2 separate regions of the Homo sapiens genome follow, and region 2 is linked to region 1. Evidence: promoter capture Hi-C in 16 types of primary human blood cells and fetal thymus (Javierre and others, 2016). All regions are on one chromosome and are shown on one strand. Each heading gives the region's core, a stretch centred on a gene start or on the middle of the fragment in contact. The rest is flanking DNA. Distances are from core to core; before and after follow the strand shown. Region 1 holds the start of THAP9 (THAP domain containing 9). Region 2 has its middle 3.3 kb from the start of G3BP2.

Region 1 (7,230 bases), core at 4,731-7,230:
GTTCTTGCTTCAATTTTAGCAGAATTCGTGTTGTTCTGATAGAGCCTCTTTTCAAACTGATGTCTTATTCTTCTTAGTGCTTCAAACTAGATCCTGTTCAGACATGTTATAACAAGTTAGTAGGAGTTTATTTTGGTCCAAAAATTTTGAAATCCATGCATAGTTTTTTCATGATATGCATTTTCCATGCACTTTTTCAAGACCCCTCATATTTTCTTAAATTTGAGAAACAACTACAATAACAAGCCTAATTCATGACAGAACTAGTATTAGATTTAAGATTCCCAGTTTCCTATCACCTTCTTTTCTACTGTTCCTGAACAGATCCTTAAGTTATAGGCTAGTCATCCTTGGCATATCTAACAGTCATTTGTAAACCCTGGATCTTTAAGAATATCAGGTGCTGAAAAGATTATATCATTATTTCTAAGAAAAGATAACCAACAGCCAGGTGTGGTGGCTTATGACTATAATCCCAGCACTTTGGGAGGCTGAGGTTGGTGGCTGGAAGTTTGAGACCAGTCTGGCCAACATGGCAAAACATGGTCTCTACTTAATAAAAAAAATTAGCTGGGTGTGGTGGCATGCGCCTCTAATCCCAGCCACTTGGGAAGCTGGGCCACAATAACTATTTGAACCCAGGAGGCAGAGATTGCAGTGAGCAGAGATTGCGCCGCTGCACTCCAGCCTGGGCAACAGAGTGAGACTGTCAAAGTTAAAAGCTCCACCCCCTCCAATGCCTTTCCTGAATTGAATCTATTAATTAAAAAAATACTATTTTGAAATAATACTTATCTTTAAAAGCTGGAAGAGTAAGGAAAAGAAATTTTTAATTCAGAGTACAGTATCCACATTAGGCTGAAATAAATGTCAATTTTCTGCTCATACCTGACCTTTTCTGTGTTCTTTTATCAAAATAAATGTGTAAGTCCCATACCTTATTATATAAATCTTCAACTTCTTGATCAAATAAATATGACAAATGATGTTCTCTAAGAAAAACACCCTTCAATTTTATTCCTAAAACGAAAAACATTCAAAGGAACTCATTGTGCAGAAACACAATATATACAAGTCTCATCATTTTCTTTTTCTATTATGTCCTCATCCACATACATTAATCACAACAAATCATGATGTGAACAGCAGTGGAAAAAATTTAATCATTGGACATTTATTTCTTGAACTTCAGCTCTAGTTGTAAGATTCTCATTGCTTAGCTCTTTAAAACAAATGCATATATTTATCTAATGTAGAACAGTTAAGACCTCCAATTTTACTATAATTGGGAAAAAAACTCAGAACAAAGATTATGTCAAGTGTATCACTGTATTGACTTTGTTAACCTGCTATACATCTGACACAAGGGTAGGTGTTCAACAAGTGAAATACCAATCCTAAAAAGCCAGAAGTCTGTATCTGCTTTCATAGGGTTATTATGAGAAATAAATATTGTTTAACAGAACCAACTCTTTCTTTTTTGAGACAGAGTCTTGCTCTGTCACCCAGGCTGGAGTGCAGTGGCCAATCTTGGCCCACTGCAACCTCCACCTCCTGGGTTCAAGTGGTTCTCCTGCCTTGGCCTCCCAAGTAGCTGGGGTTACAGGTGCGTGCCACCATGCCCGGCTAATTTTTGTATTTTTAGTAGAGACGGAGTTTCGCCATGTTGGCCAGGCTGGTCTTGAACTCCTGAGCTCAGGTGATTCACCTGCCTTAGCCTTTCAAAGTGCTGGGATTACAGGTGCGAGCCACCATGCCTGGCCAAGAAAACCAACTCTTTCTATACACTATATATAAAAATCTTAGCAGCCTGGGCAACACGGCAAAACCCCTTCTCTACCAAAAATACAAAAAATTAGCCAGGTGTGGTGGCACACGCCTGCAGTTCCAGCTACTTAGAGAAGCTAATTGGAACTAGAGTATGGCTAGAAATTAGGTATTCCTACTCATATAATTTTCCTTGGGGTGATACTAACTTGGAAAGTTGAACTTTCTAAGAATTTTTCAAGGAATATTGTCCAATTTCTTCTGTGCAGTTATACAAATATTTGCTATAGGATGGAGTAAAGGTACAGATGTACAGCATCATTGAAGGAGTTTGACCTTTTTCCCCAAAGCTTGATTTTTATCCACTATGATGAATACATTTTACTAAATACTTGCTACTCTTTTCCTTCTGCTGCTTCCACCCCCACCTCCCACAGGCTTCTACTCCTCATCAGCAAAATATAGACCTTGTCAAGCAATCAGAATGTTCCTAATTGGCAGAACACTAATTCGTGCCTGAGATTTATAATCTTTTGAGTCTTCTTGTTTTCCTTTCATCACTGCTCAAAAGTTCTATTAGAAGAAAAAACACTCCCCCTTTTCCTTTAAGTCCTAGCACTGCTTCTGATATTTGGAAACCACTTGTCTAATAACAGAAGCATTACGTATAAAACAAAGCATAACTAGTTTTGGAGCGTATTAGGGTGTAGCTGCCCCTCCATATCAGGCTTGATGCTGAGAAGACACTTCCAAGTTAGCATGAGATTCTAGAAGTAGAAATAATTATGTAACAAATAATGATATAACAATAATTTCAAAACTCCATGGCTTTCTGAAACAAAAGACAGAACTCAAACAATGAAAAATTCGGCAACACAAAAGGGTAGGTCCTCAACAAGCAAGATACCAACCCTAGAAAGCAAGAAGTCTATACCTGCTTTCATAGAGTTATTATGAGAAATAAATATTGTTTAAGAAAACCAACTCTTTCTATATACTGTATATAAAAAGCTTAGCAGCCTGGGCAACATGGTAAAACCCTGTCTCTACCAAATATACAAAAAAAAATTAGCCAGGTGTAGTGGTACATGCATGTGGTCCCAGCTACTTAGGAAGCTGAGGTGGGAAGATTGCTTGGGCCTGGAAGACAGAGGTTGCAATAAGCTGAGATTGCGCCACTGCACTCCAGCCTGGGTGACAGAGTGAGACCCCATCTCAAAAAATAAAATAAAATGAAATGAAATTAAAAAAAGCTCAGCATAATTTGTGGCCCATAGTAACTGGCCAATAAATAAATATCTGTTATTATTCTTTCCAAGTGGACAATTAATGAGATTATATACCATAAAATAGGTAGATTTCATTAAAGCCTTAATAAATGTTTTTTACTTGGACAATCCTCCATTTCCAACTCACTGCTATAGTTCCAGGAATACTTAATACATTTAAAATAGAAAGATATACTACCTTCCCTGCATATTTTGAGTAATTATCTTCCAAGACCCATGTATCTTTTCTCAACATCTCTGAGAGTACAATTCCTGAAAAGAGATATTTTCTTTTAAAATTTTTTGTGCAATAGTCAATGCCTTTGCAAATAACACTATCTTTAATACAGCTTACATATCCTCATTTAAGTATTCAATAATCACAACGGTTCATTATGTGAACAGCAGTGAAAAGGTTTAATCACTGGATATGAAGTTACTAGAAGAAGCAATGATATAACCAAATGATCAGATTGAGAACTTCCATGTCAACAGTAAAATAATCACAACAACAAAAAAAGTATAGATAAGTTATAAACAAATGTAAAGATACAAAAATACAACTAAGAAAAAAAAATTCCATCTATAAAGGATTACTTATTTCCTATGCAGAAGTAAATATCTAGAGCAGTGACCCCTTGCGGCTATTGCCTTCATTTAAGTAAATCTGTTCTGATAAAAGCAGTTTTCAGAAATTCATCTGAAATTAACAATTAAAGGAATGTTGTCAGAATAATGTAGGAAGCACACTATTTCATCTTTAGGAAAGGCAAATAGTTGCAATCCAATTAAACAGGAAAGAAAACAGCCCTCATTTCAGATGATGAACTGGCAGCAGTACTTTCAACTCTACCTTAAGAAAATGGCAAGTGAATGCCTGTATCTGCAAACTTTTGAGTCCTTAAGAAAAGGCAAACACCACGATGAGACAGCCACTTCACATGCACAAAAATGTGGAGAAACTGGCAGCCTCATCCACTGCTGGTGGGAATGTAAAATGGTGCAGCCACTAGGGAAAATAATCTGGCACTTCCTCAAGAAGCTAAACACAGTTATCTTATGACTCACCAATTCCACTCTTAGGTGTGTAATCAGGAAAATGAAAACATTTGTCCACACAAAAACTTGTACACAAATGTTCATAATAGTAAAAAAAAAAATTGGAAAACCCAAATGTCCACCAACTGTTGAACGGATAAACAAAATCTGCTACATCCATAAAATGGAGTACGATTCAGCAATAAAAAATAAAGTACTGATACGTGCTATAAGATGGATGAACTCTGAAAACATTCCAAGTGAAAGAAGCCAGTCACAAAGACCATATATTAGTTCATAATTCCACTTACATGAAGTGTACAGAGCAGGCAGAGGCACACGGAAACTAAATTAGTGTTTGCTGAGCGGGGTGGGGGAATATTTGGAGGTGCTGCTAGTAAGAATGAGGTTTCTTTCTGGAGTGATGAAAATGTTCTAATATTGATTGTGACTGTTCCACAATTCTGTGCATATACTAAAACCCACTGAATTGTACACTTTAAACCAATTAGTTGTGTGGTATGAGAATTATATCTGAGTAAAACTGTTACAAAAATATAAGGCAACTAATTTTTTCCTTAAAGATAGCTAAAAACAATGTTATTTTTATTCAGCCTCACTCGGGTCTTAATTGGTTGAGCAGGAAAAGGCTCTAACAGCCCAACCAACTTACAGTATTTAAATCCAGTTCTTACTCTCTGCACACACCTTACAGCCAAAAAGTATTTGCCCTGCACATCCCCCAGGGACCAATTTTTCCAAAGTTCCTTGACCATCTATCCTTAGGCCATGTGACTTTTAAGGAACCATAACCAAAAGCTATTAATTCCATTCAGAGAAGATACAAGCATATTATAATGGAAAACTGGTGTGAATAAGTAATACCTTAATATGTATCTTCGGCTGTAATCTGGACAAAGTAAACACAAAGGGGAAAAAGAAGCAATCTTGTTAGGCCTGGATATTTGGAATTATTTTTGTGTGCTATACAAAGAAACGGAAAAGTTGCAAACCCTTCTCTGTTTTCTGTATGCTAAGGATCTCCTTCTCAGAGACAAAAACCCACTGGCCCGTTTCCTTCTCTAAGCAAATTGAAATCTCTTCCTCAAACATAAGAGCTTATAACTAAGACATTGTTCTAAGCTCTATCTCCTGAAAGCTATTCATAATGCCTCATTCCCAACCAAAACCACTTAATTGCCCCTTGTCCCCTGCCCCTATTACTACTGAGGAGCCCCAAGAACCTTACCTTATTTCCTTCATTGTGGCAAAGTGTTTCAGAAAAGGGTTCCTTGAATTAAAAGTCGGCGTATCCTATTTGACTCCTGCTCCTCCGGTATCACATACCTACAGCCAACCATGCCAAGAGCTTCCCCATTATCTCCGCATCGGAGAGCTACAAGATAAAGCGCAAGAACACGACACGCATCTCAGTAAATCATATATTTTTGGCCCGACTCTGTCTTCAACACACCTAAGGCACCGTGTTTTATCCCTCTTCCATACCCTTTCCTCCCGATATCCTCCAGTTTCAGAGACCGCACCCGGAGACCCATTGGCAGGTTCCTGGATTCGCCTCAATTTTGGTCCTGCCTCTCTGCTTCGCATTTTCAGGCTTGGCCTCACAAGAAGGACGATGGCGCCAGATTGTGCCAGAATGGGTGAAAACAGAAGGAAAATAAACCGGTTGCAGCAAAACCCACTATTCCGCCTCCAACGCGGAGGGAGGAGCGGTCAAATGCACGTCTTCAGGCTCAGGCCCTTCCGATTGGCTGCTGGGACACAACGTGGCCTGTCATTGGCTACGGCACCGGCGCAGGGCCTTCGGAGAGGAAGTGTGGAAGTCCCGCGCCTCTAAAGCCCGCCTTTCGTGACAAATAAAGGTCGTAGCCGCAGAGTCAACGGGCGGAGCTAAAGTGGTCGTGATTCATGCTGTCGCGGGAACCCCGAAGGTGGGGCCCCACGTAACAAGAAGATGACCCGAAGTTGCTCCGCAGTGGGCTGCAGCACCCGTGACACCGTGCTCAGCCGGGAGCGCGGCCTCTCCTTCCACCAGTGCGTATGGGAGCAGCCTCGAAGCCTTCGAACTCCCTGCGGGGCCCGGCGGGCCGTGGCGTGGCGTGGGGCGGGGCCGGGCCGCACTGTGGGTCGCGCCGCGTGTGTGACGCGACGTGACGTGCGCAGCGTCGGGGCGTGGGAGCGGAATTGGGGCACTGTGAGAATTGAGATTCTCTCTCTTCCCGCCCAGTGTTTACCTCTGAATAGCCGGTTCTCGCACCGCCTACCGCTTTAAGGAGAGTTACGCGAAAGGAGTCCTCCATTAATTGGATGGTCTTATTATTTGAAGTGAGGAGGCCGAAAGGGAAGGCAGTTTAGGACAACGGTTGAAGTGTGTGTGTGGCGTCTTCCTGAGCACGAGTACAGATCAGTTTTCTCCTGTACTGCCTGACATTGCAAGTTCTTAAGTGCTGTTAGCCGAGCTGTGCAAGGCCGGTCCGATTCTGGCTGGATTTGATCATGGCAGGGAAGTTTCATTTGGCTCGACAGTGGGGAAGAATTTCAGATCAGTCTTATCTGAACTCATATCCATGGTTCAGACTGGTATAGGTCATTCAGTATTCAGGGTACACTAGCAAGTAGAAAAGTGGGTAAAATAGATCCTCACAGACAAAAGGAGCAGATTTATGGAAAGATCAAAAAGAACTTTATGGTTGGAAAGGGGGGGTAGGAAGAGGGTAGTTAGGAATGGCATGGGAAAATGTAAAGGATAGAAAGTGCAAATATAGAGGAGTGGAAAAGTACCTGAGAAACCATTTTAAAAATGTAAATGCCAGGTTAAGGAGTTTAGAGTATGTATGGTAGGCTATGTATAAAATTCATTGATTTTTTTTTTTTTTTGTTTTCTATTTTTTAAATAGGGCTGATTCCTCCACCTAAATTGTTAGCAGTGTGAACCAACTCATTGTGTATGTGAGACCATAATTGATTTGGGATTTTTCTTGTGATAGAGGTAGTTTTAAACTAGGGAGACATGAATTCCAATTTTAATTGAGTATTTACTGATGTCTGTACTTGGCTCTGGGTCTTGGTTTCTTCTTCTGTAAGAGGAATAAAAACCTGCCTTGTAGAATTTTGTAAAACTAAAACGTAAGACTTT
Region 2 (6,646 bases), core at 339-2,838, 7.2 Mb before region 1:
CACCGCCCCCTCTTATTGTTTTACCCCTGCCGAAAGGGCCAGGGAACCCCCGAGCACAGCGTCAGCCAATCACGCATCTCCTCCAGAGCCGGACCCAACCTTCCCGTGTCCCTCTGCGGAGCACGCGCAGTACGCTGCCGCGCTCGCACACGCTCGCGCCCGGAAAGCCGGGGAACCGGAACCGGCCTAAAGCCAAGATAAGAGTCCGCTGATTTGACGTCACAAGCAGGCTGCCTTTCTCCGGTCCCGAGGCTCCAGCCTTGCCGCCCTTCTTCCTGATCGCGCAAGCGAGAGCTGGTTCGCAGCAACGCAGTGTCTTTTGTAGACTGATATTCTGGTCCTTTTTATTAATGGGAAGGAGGGAATTTAGTAATCTCTCTGAATAGGTGTCTGCAGGTTGCTGCTGTAGACGAGCTTAAAATGCAGCCGGTGATTTCAGCTGTTTGCACACTAAACTCACCTACATTGTTTACTTAACCCATCCTAGGTTTTAAGCCCCATTAAGAGGCCCTGCAGTAAAGGAAGAACATGACGTGGGCTTTACAGAGGGGGAAAAGACTATTTCTTTGTGTCCTTGTTACGAATTTAGGCATGGCTAAATATCAGTAGATACTAAAGCATTTTACATACTAAAGCTAAAAGAAGGCCTGAAATACAAGGATTACAGTCCTGTTCTAGCTCTAAGCCCAGACTTGCCCCCAGGGTGAGACACTGGTGACCTTGTTTCATGGACAAAGCCAAGCCAAATCTTGTAGTCAAGGAAGCCACTTTGCATCTTAGGTCTGGCAGTGTTTTCAGAGAATACCGAGATAGCACAGGAATTTTGGAATGAAGGACTGAGGAAGTGTTCAAAGAAACGGAAAGGAAAAAATACATTAATGAATGCTTACGAACTAAACATGGTGGACGCAAGCATGTACATCTCATCAGTTTTCTTCGCAATCCTGTAAGGGCAATTTTAAGGTATTTGGCATGTTAAGACAATACGTCAAATACCTTAAATATTGGCAGAGGCAATGCCAACATTAGGGCCTCCAAAGTCTACAATATCTTTACCTTTAGACTGCTTAAAGATACTGTTATATGCAAAATATTTGGGCAGACCATCACTTTAATGAAATCAACCTGATGTTTTTCCTTAAAGCATCAAAATACATTACATGCCGGCTGTCCTTTAATATACTGGGCTTATATACCAGGCATTCTTGTAATTATACAGCCTTCTGAGCCTCACAGTAACCCTATGAGCTAGTTGCTATATGTATGTACATATATATATATATATATATATATTTTTTTTTTTTTTTTTTTTTTAAGATGGAGTCTCTCTGTGTCGCCCAGGCTGGAGTGCAATGGCACGGTCTTGGCTCACTGCAACCTCCGCCTCCCGGGTTCAAGCGGTTCTCCTGCCTCAGGCTCCCTAGTAGCTGGGACTACAGGCGCATGCCACCACACCCAACTAATTTTTATATTTTTAGTAGAGACGAGGTTTCACTATGTTGGCCAGGCTGGTCTCGAACACACCTGACCTCGTGATCCGCCCGCCTTGGCCTCCTAAAGTGTTGGGATTACAGGCGTGAGCCACCGCACCCGGCCAGTAGTTGCTATTTTTATGCCCATTTTATAGATGAGAAAACAGGCTTGGAGAGGTCAAGTAACTTACCCAGGACTACACTGCTACTATTCACTGGAGCTGGGATTCAAACACAGGCAATCTGCCTCCACAGTCCATACCCTCAGGCAAACTATAGAATACTCCCATTGTACTAATTGCCGCAATTCACTTATCTGCCCTACTGCTGACTAACCTTCAAGTGTTTCCGGTTTGGAGCTCTTCCGTGCAATGCTATTATAAATATTCTTCACCATGTATCCTGCAGAGGTGCAGAACTTTCTCTAGAGCAGTGGTTCTCAGACCTTAATGTGCACCGAAATCACCTGTAGGGCTTGTTAAAACAGATAGTTGGGCCCCACTCCCTAAGTTTCTGATTCAACAGAGGCCCGAGAATTTGCACTTCTAACAAGTTCTCAGCTGATGGTGCTACTGCTGCTCTAGGAGCCACACTTTAAAAACCACTGATATAGGCCGGGCGCGGCAGCTCACGACTGTAATCCCAGCACTTTGGAAGGCCGAGGGGGGCGGATCACCTGAGGTCAGGAGTTTGAGACCAGCCTGACCAACATGGAGAAACCTCGTCTCTACTAAAAATACAAAATTAGCCGGGCGTGGTGGCGCATGCCTGTAATCCCAGCTACTCGGGAGGCTGAGGCAGGAGAATCGCTTGAACCTGGGAGGCGGAGGTTGCGGTGAGCTGAGATCGCGCTATTGCACTCCAGCCTGGGTGACAACAGTGAAAACTCCGTCTCAAAAAAAACAAACACCACTGATCTAGGGCAGAGGTGGGCAAACGGTTTGATAAGGGAAGGATTAGATAGTAAATATTTTTGGTTTTGAGCGCCACGTATGGTTTCTGTTGCATATTCCTCTCTCTCTCGCATCCTTTAAAAATTTAAGAAACATTTTTAGTTTAGCTCTAGAGCTACACAGAAACAGCCCTCAGGTAACCCTGCTCTTGAGTAGACACCAATAAGTGGAGTTAATGGGAAAAAAGATTCAGCGATCTTCAATGTTAAGTAAATATCTCTAACCTATTCTAACTGGCGATTTTTACCTCATAAACATATCTCTACACAAATAGCCCCTGCCCAGGTTCAGGCCCCTTCATCTTCCCAGGAAGACTGCAGTGGCCTCCTAACTAATCTCCCTGCCTCTCAAACATAGCCTCCATGAAGCAATGTCCACCTCCTATAGACTAGGCAGGGAGACCAGTGTGAACGGTATTCATTCGGTGGCTCAGGCCAAAAACCTCTTTTTCTCACACCAATTTATTGACAGCCAATTGCCAATAATTTTTTTTTTTTTTTTTTTTTTTTGAGATGGAGTCTCGCTCTGTCATCCAGGCTGGAGTGCAATGGCATGATCTGGGCTGACTGCAACCTCCACCTCCCAGGTTCAAGCCATTCTCCTGCCTTGGCCTCCCAAGTGGCTAGGACTACAGGCATGTGCCACCACGCCCATCTAATTTTTCTATTTTTAGTAGAGACGAGGTTTCACCATGTTGGCCAGGTTGATCTCGAACTCCTGACCTCAAGTGATCCACCCACTTCGCCGAATTGTCAATACATTTCTGTTCCCTCTACCTTCAACATTTATTCTGGATTAAATACTTTGCATCACTGTTACTGCTGCTATAGTAGTCCAGGCCACCATTGCCTATTGCAATAGCTTTCTACTTGGCCTCAATGCTTCCACTCTTATTCCACTACAGTCTGTTCCCCTCACAGCAGCCAGATCTTTCATAGTTATAATTGAGATGGTCCCAAAACCTTTAAAAGGCAACACAAAATCTCAGGTCCTTACCATGGCCTACAAGGCCTACCTGATCTAGTCCTTACCTATTACTTCCATTTCTTTTCTTACCACTGGTTTTCTCACACCACCCCAGCCAGCTCTTCCTTTGACATTCTCATCACATTACCACCCCAAGGCCTTTAATGTGAACCTTTATCAAAACACTGTGAAAAATAAAAGTAAATGAATCAGACCCAATCACCATTAGCAGGTAAATTTTTAAAAGTAAAATTACTAGAATTATATTACCTGATTCCTGATTTTTATTATAAACTTCAGCATAAAATACTTAGATAAGTATTTGAATAAGATAAGACATTTGAATTTATAAAGCTTTTCCTCTACACCCTTTCATTTGACCATTCTCAACTTTACTGAATACTAAAAGATCAACCAAGTCCATTATCACCACTTTTGCTGATGAAGTAGGTGTATACGAGATGACTACATGCGGCTGGGCGCAGTGGTTCACGCCTGTAACCCCAACACTTTGGGAGGCCCAGGTGGGTGGATCACGAGGTCAGGAGTTCGAGACCAGCCTGGCCAACATAGTGAAACCCCGTCTCTACTAAAAATACAAAAATTAGCCAGGCATGGTGGTGCGCACCTGTAGTCCCAGCTACTGGGGAGGCTGAGGCAGGAGAATCACTTGAACCCAGGAGGCGGAGGTTGTGGTAACCCGAGATCGCACCACTTCACTCCAGCCTGGGCAACAGAGCGAGACTCTGTCTCAAAAAATAAAAAATAAAAAAAAAAAGAGATGACTACATGCATGTTTAGGGGTCACACACCCCACATAAATAAGGTTTATGAAGACCAAGCATTGGAAGGGAGTAAAATCCAAGTCCTTAAGGGAAACGCATTTTTCTTGGAAAGTGTCTTTACTCACCATGTTTTTAAACTTTTAAGGCTTGCAAAACAAATGTCTTGGCCCCACTACTAATTCAGTTAGGAAGGATGATGCTGTGGATTGAATGTATGTGCCCCTCCAAAATTCATGTTGAAACTTAATCTCCAATGCAAAAGTATTAAAAGGTGGGTGGGACCTTCAGGCGGCAACTAGGTCATGAGGGCCTCACCTTCATGAATGGAATTCGTGTGCTCATAAAAGGGGATTGAGGGAGTTCATTAGTCTCTTTTGTGCTTTTGCCCCTTTCACCATGTGAGAACACAGCAAGAAGGCACCATCTTTGAAGCAGAGCAAGCCCTCACTAGGGTTGGCCCTTTGATCTTGAACTACTCAGCCTTTAGAACTATAAGCAATAAGTTTCTGTTGTTTATAAGTTACCCAGTTGAAGGGTGGTTTTGTTGTTGTTGTTGTTGTTGTTGTTTGAGACAGGTTCTTGCTTTGTCTGTCACCTGGCTGGAGTGCAATGGTGCGATCATAGCTCATTGCAGCCTCGACTTCTCAGCCTCCTGAGTAGCTGGGACCACAGGTGTGCACTACCGTGCCTAGCTTGTGTGTGTGTGTGTGTGTGTGTGTGTGTGTGTGTGTGTGTGTGTACACAGGGTCTCATTATGTTGCCCAATCTGGTCTTGATTGCCTGGCCTCAGGCCATCCTCTTGCCTCAGGCTCCCAAAGTGTTGAGATTACGGGCATGAGCCACACCTGACCTAAAGGTATTTTGTTATAGCAGCCCAAATAGACTAAAACAAATGATAATGCTGTCAACAGCATAGTATTTAAAGAGTCTGGCTGGGCACAATGGGGTATGCTTGTTGTCCCCACTACTTGGGAAGCTGAAGCAGGAGGATCACTTGAACCCAGGAGTTTGAGTTCAGCCTGGGCAATATAGCAAGACCCCATTTCCAAAAAAAATAAAAAAGAATCTGGGCTCCAGAACCACACTGCCTGGATTTGAATCCCAGCTTTATCTCATCACTTACTAGGTATATCACTATAGGCAGGATGTTTCACTTTTATGTGCCTCAGTGTTTCTCATCTGTAAAATGGGGACAATAATAATATCTACCTTATTAGGGTACAGTAAGGTTTAGACAATACATGTAAAACATTTTAACAGTGTCTGGCACATGGTAAGTGCTCAATAAACATCGGCACTTAATGTTTGGTTCTTGAAAAAGTATATGCACCAATTGCTTTCAACTGATTCCTTTTTCGCAGACTGCCCACTGCTTTGTTCTGAAGTAACAACTTACATTTGTATAGCATTTTACAGTTTTCAAAACACTTTCAAACACATTATCTCATTTCAATTTCACAGCAATTCACAAAGCAGGCAAGCTGCACAAGGCTAAAAATGGCCAATTTAGAAAGAGAGCCCAGAGTCCCTCTGACTCATGCCACTACACCATGTCCTACTGCTAAATGATGAACTTTTATAGACTTTGAACAAGACTTACTGATTGAAAACATGTTACTTGAGAATCCCAGGGCTCTCTCTTGGTGCAACTGGATCCTTTACAAAGCTTTTTAATGCACAGAGAAACCTACTCCCATGAGTAGGATGAATCCATTCATTTTAGAGCAAGAGAGGAGAAAGCCTATTATGACCTAAAGAAAGAATCAAATGTTAATTTCTCCCTGCAATCTTTCCAGCCATTATCTGTTTGTGAGGCTGGGACAGGTTAGGGTATAAAGGAGTGTTTTCCTCTCCAATCATTGTGAGTGTGTAAAATATGTCTCACATCCAGAAAAGTGCATGAAATGGCCTGCCAATCTGTGTGATGAAGTACAAAATGTCACAATATGAATGACTGCTATAGGTGGTAGATTTTAGGTATGTAACTTGTTTTGATCATATCTATGAAAGTCTATAAGTAGGTGAGATTCTACATGCTACCTGAGTTTGAGAGAACAAAGGTTGCAAGTTCTAAGAAAGTCACTTCTTCAGAATTTAGAGGCAATAGTCTCATAAAAAAATCAACATACAAAGAATCAGATTATCAATTATGAAAATAACCCACCCTGAATTTGTGAATTCTAACGGATTCCATTTAACACTCTTGAAGCCATGATGCCAGCTAAAAGCACCTCAGGCTGAGTAAATGAGGTGCTTTTCAGAGATAAAATAATCCTGGAAAGCAGAACAACTAAAGATAACATAAATGAATGAGGAGGCATTTGCCCTGAATCCAGAAAATGACTTTGAAAAGAGGAAATATTTCACCAGTGTTTATCTCACACTGTCCAAGATAGACTATATTTGTCAGGCAGGAATATCCTAGCCCTCAGTGGGCTGCAGGGTGTGTTTAATTCTTCAAGCCTTACAG

Evidence for each region. The method cuts DNA at HindIII sites, captures the fragments that hold promoters and counts their contacts. A CHiCAGO score of 5 or more calls a contact.
Region 2: a fragment that was not itself captured here is called in contact with the fragment with the promoter of THAP9 in region 1 in 1 of 17 cell types (neutrophils); the score reaches 5.2 in neutrophils.

Annotation. Positions count from the first base shown.
Region 1 is chr4:82,894,755-82,901,984 of GRCh38, forward strand. THAP9 (THAP domain containing 9) reads left to right here and starts at 5,981. Exons shown (of 5, transcript NM_024672.6): 1 at 5,981-6,128. The coding sequence starts at 6,049. It overlaps THAP9-AS1 (THAP9 antisense RNA 1), which reads right to left and starts at 6,162. Exons shown (of 4, transcript NR_034077.1): 1 at 5,580-6,162; 2 at 5,323-5,469; 3 at 938-1,020; 4 at 1-93. It overlaps SNORD143 (small nucleolar RNA, C/D box 143), which reads right to left and starts at 1,174; the gene lies at 1,099-1,174. It overlaps SNORD144 (small nucleolar RNA, C/D box 144), which reads right to left and starts at 3,471; the gene lies at 3,386-3,471. It also overlaps a transcript of SEC31A not described here. RefSeq lists enhancers at 5,426-5,945, 5,561-5,680, 5,946-6,465 and a silencer at 5,991-6,340. The HindIII fragment of the contact is 4,998 bases long and covers 2,777-7,230 here.
Region 2 is chr4:75,673,427-75,680,072 of GRCh38, forward strand. It overlaps a transcript of G3BP2 not described here. Among named protein-coding and RNA genes, the nearest start is that of G3BP2, 3.3 kb to the left of the region's middle. RefSeq lists enhancers at 1-84, 821-1,798, 1,799-2,775. The HindIII fragment of the contact is 4,310 bases long and covers 1-3,743 here.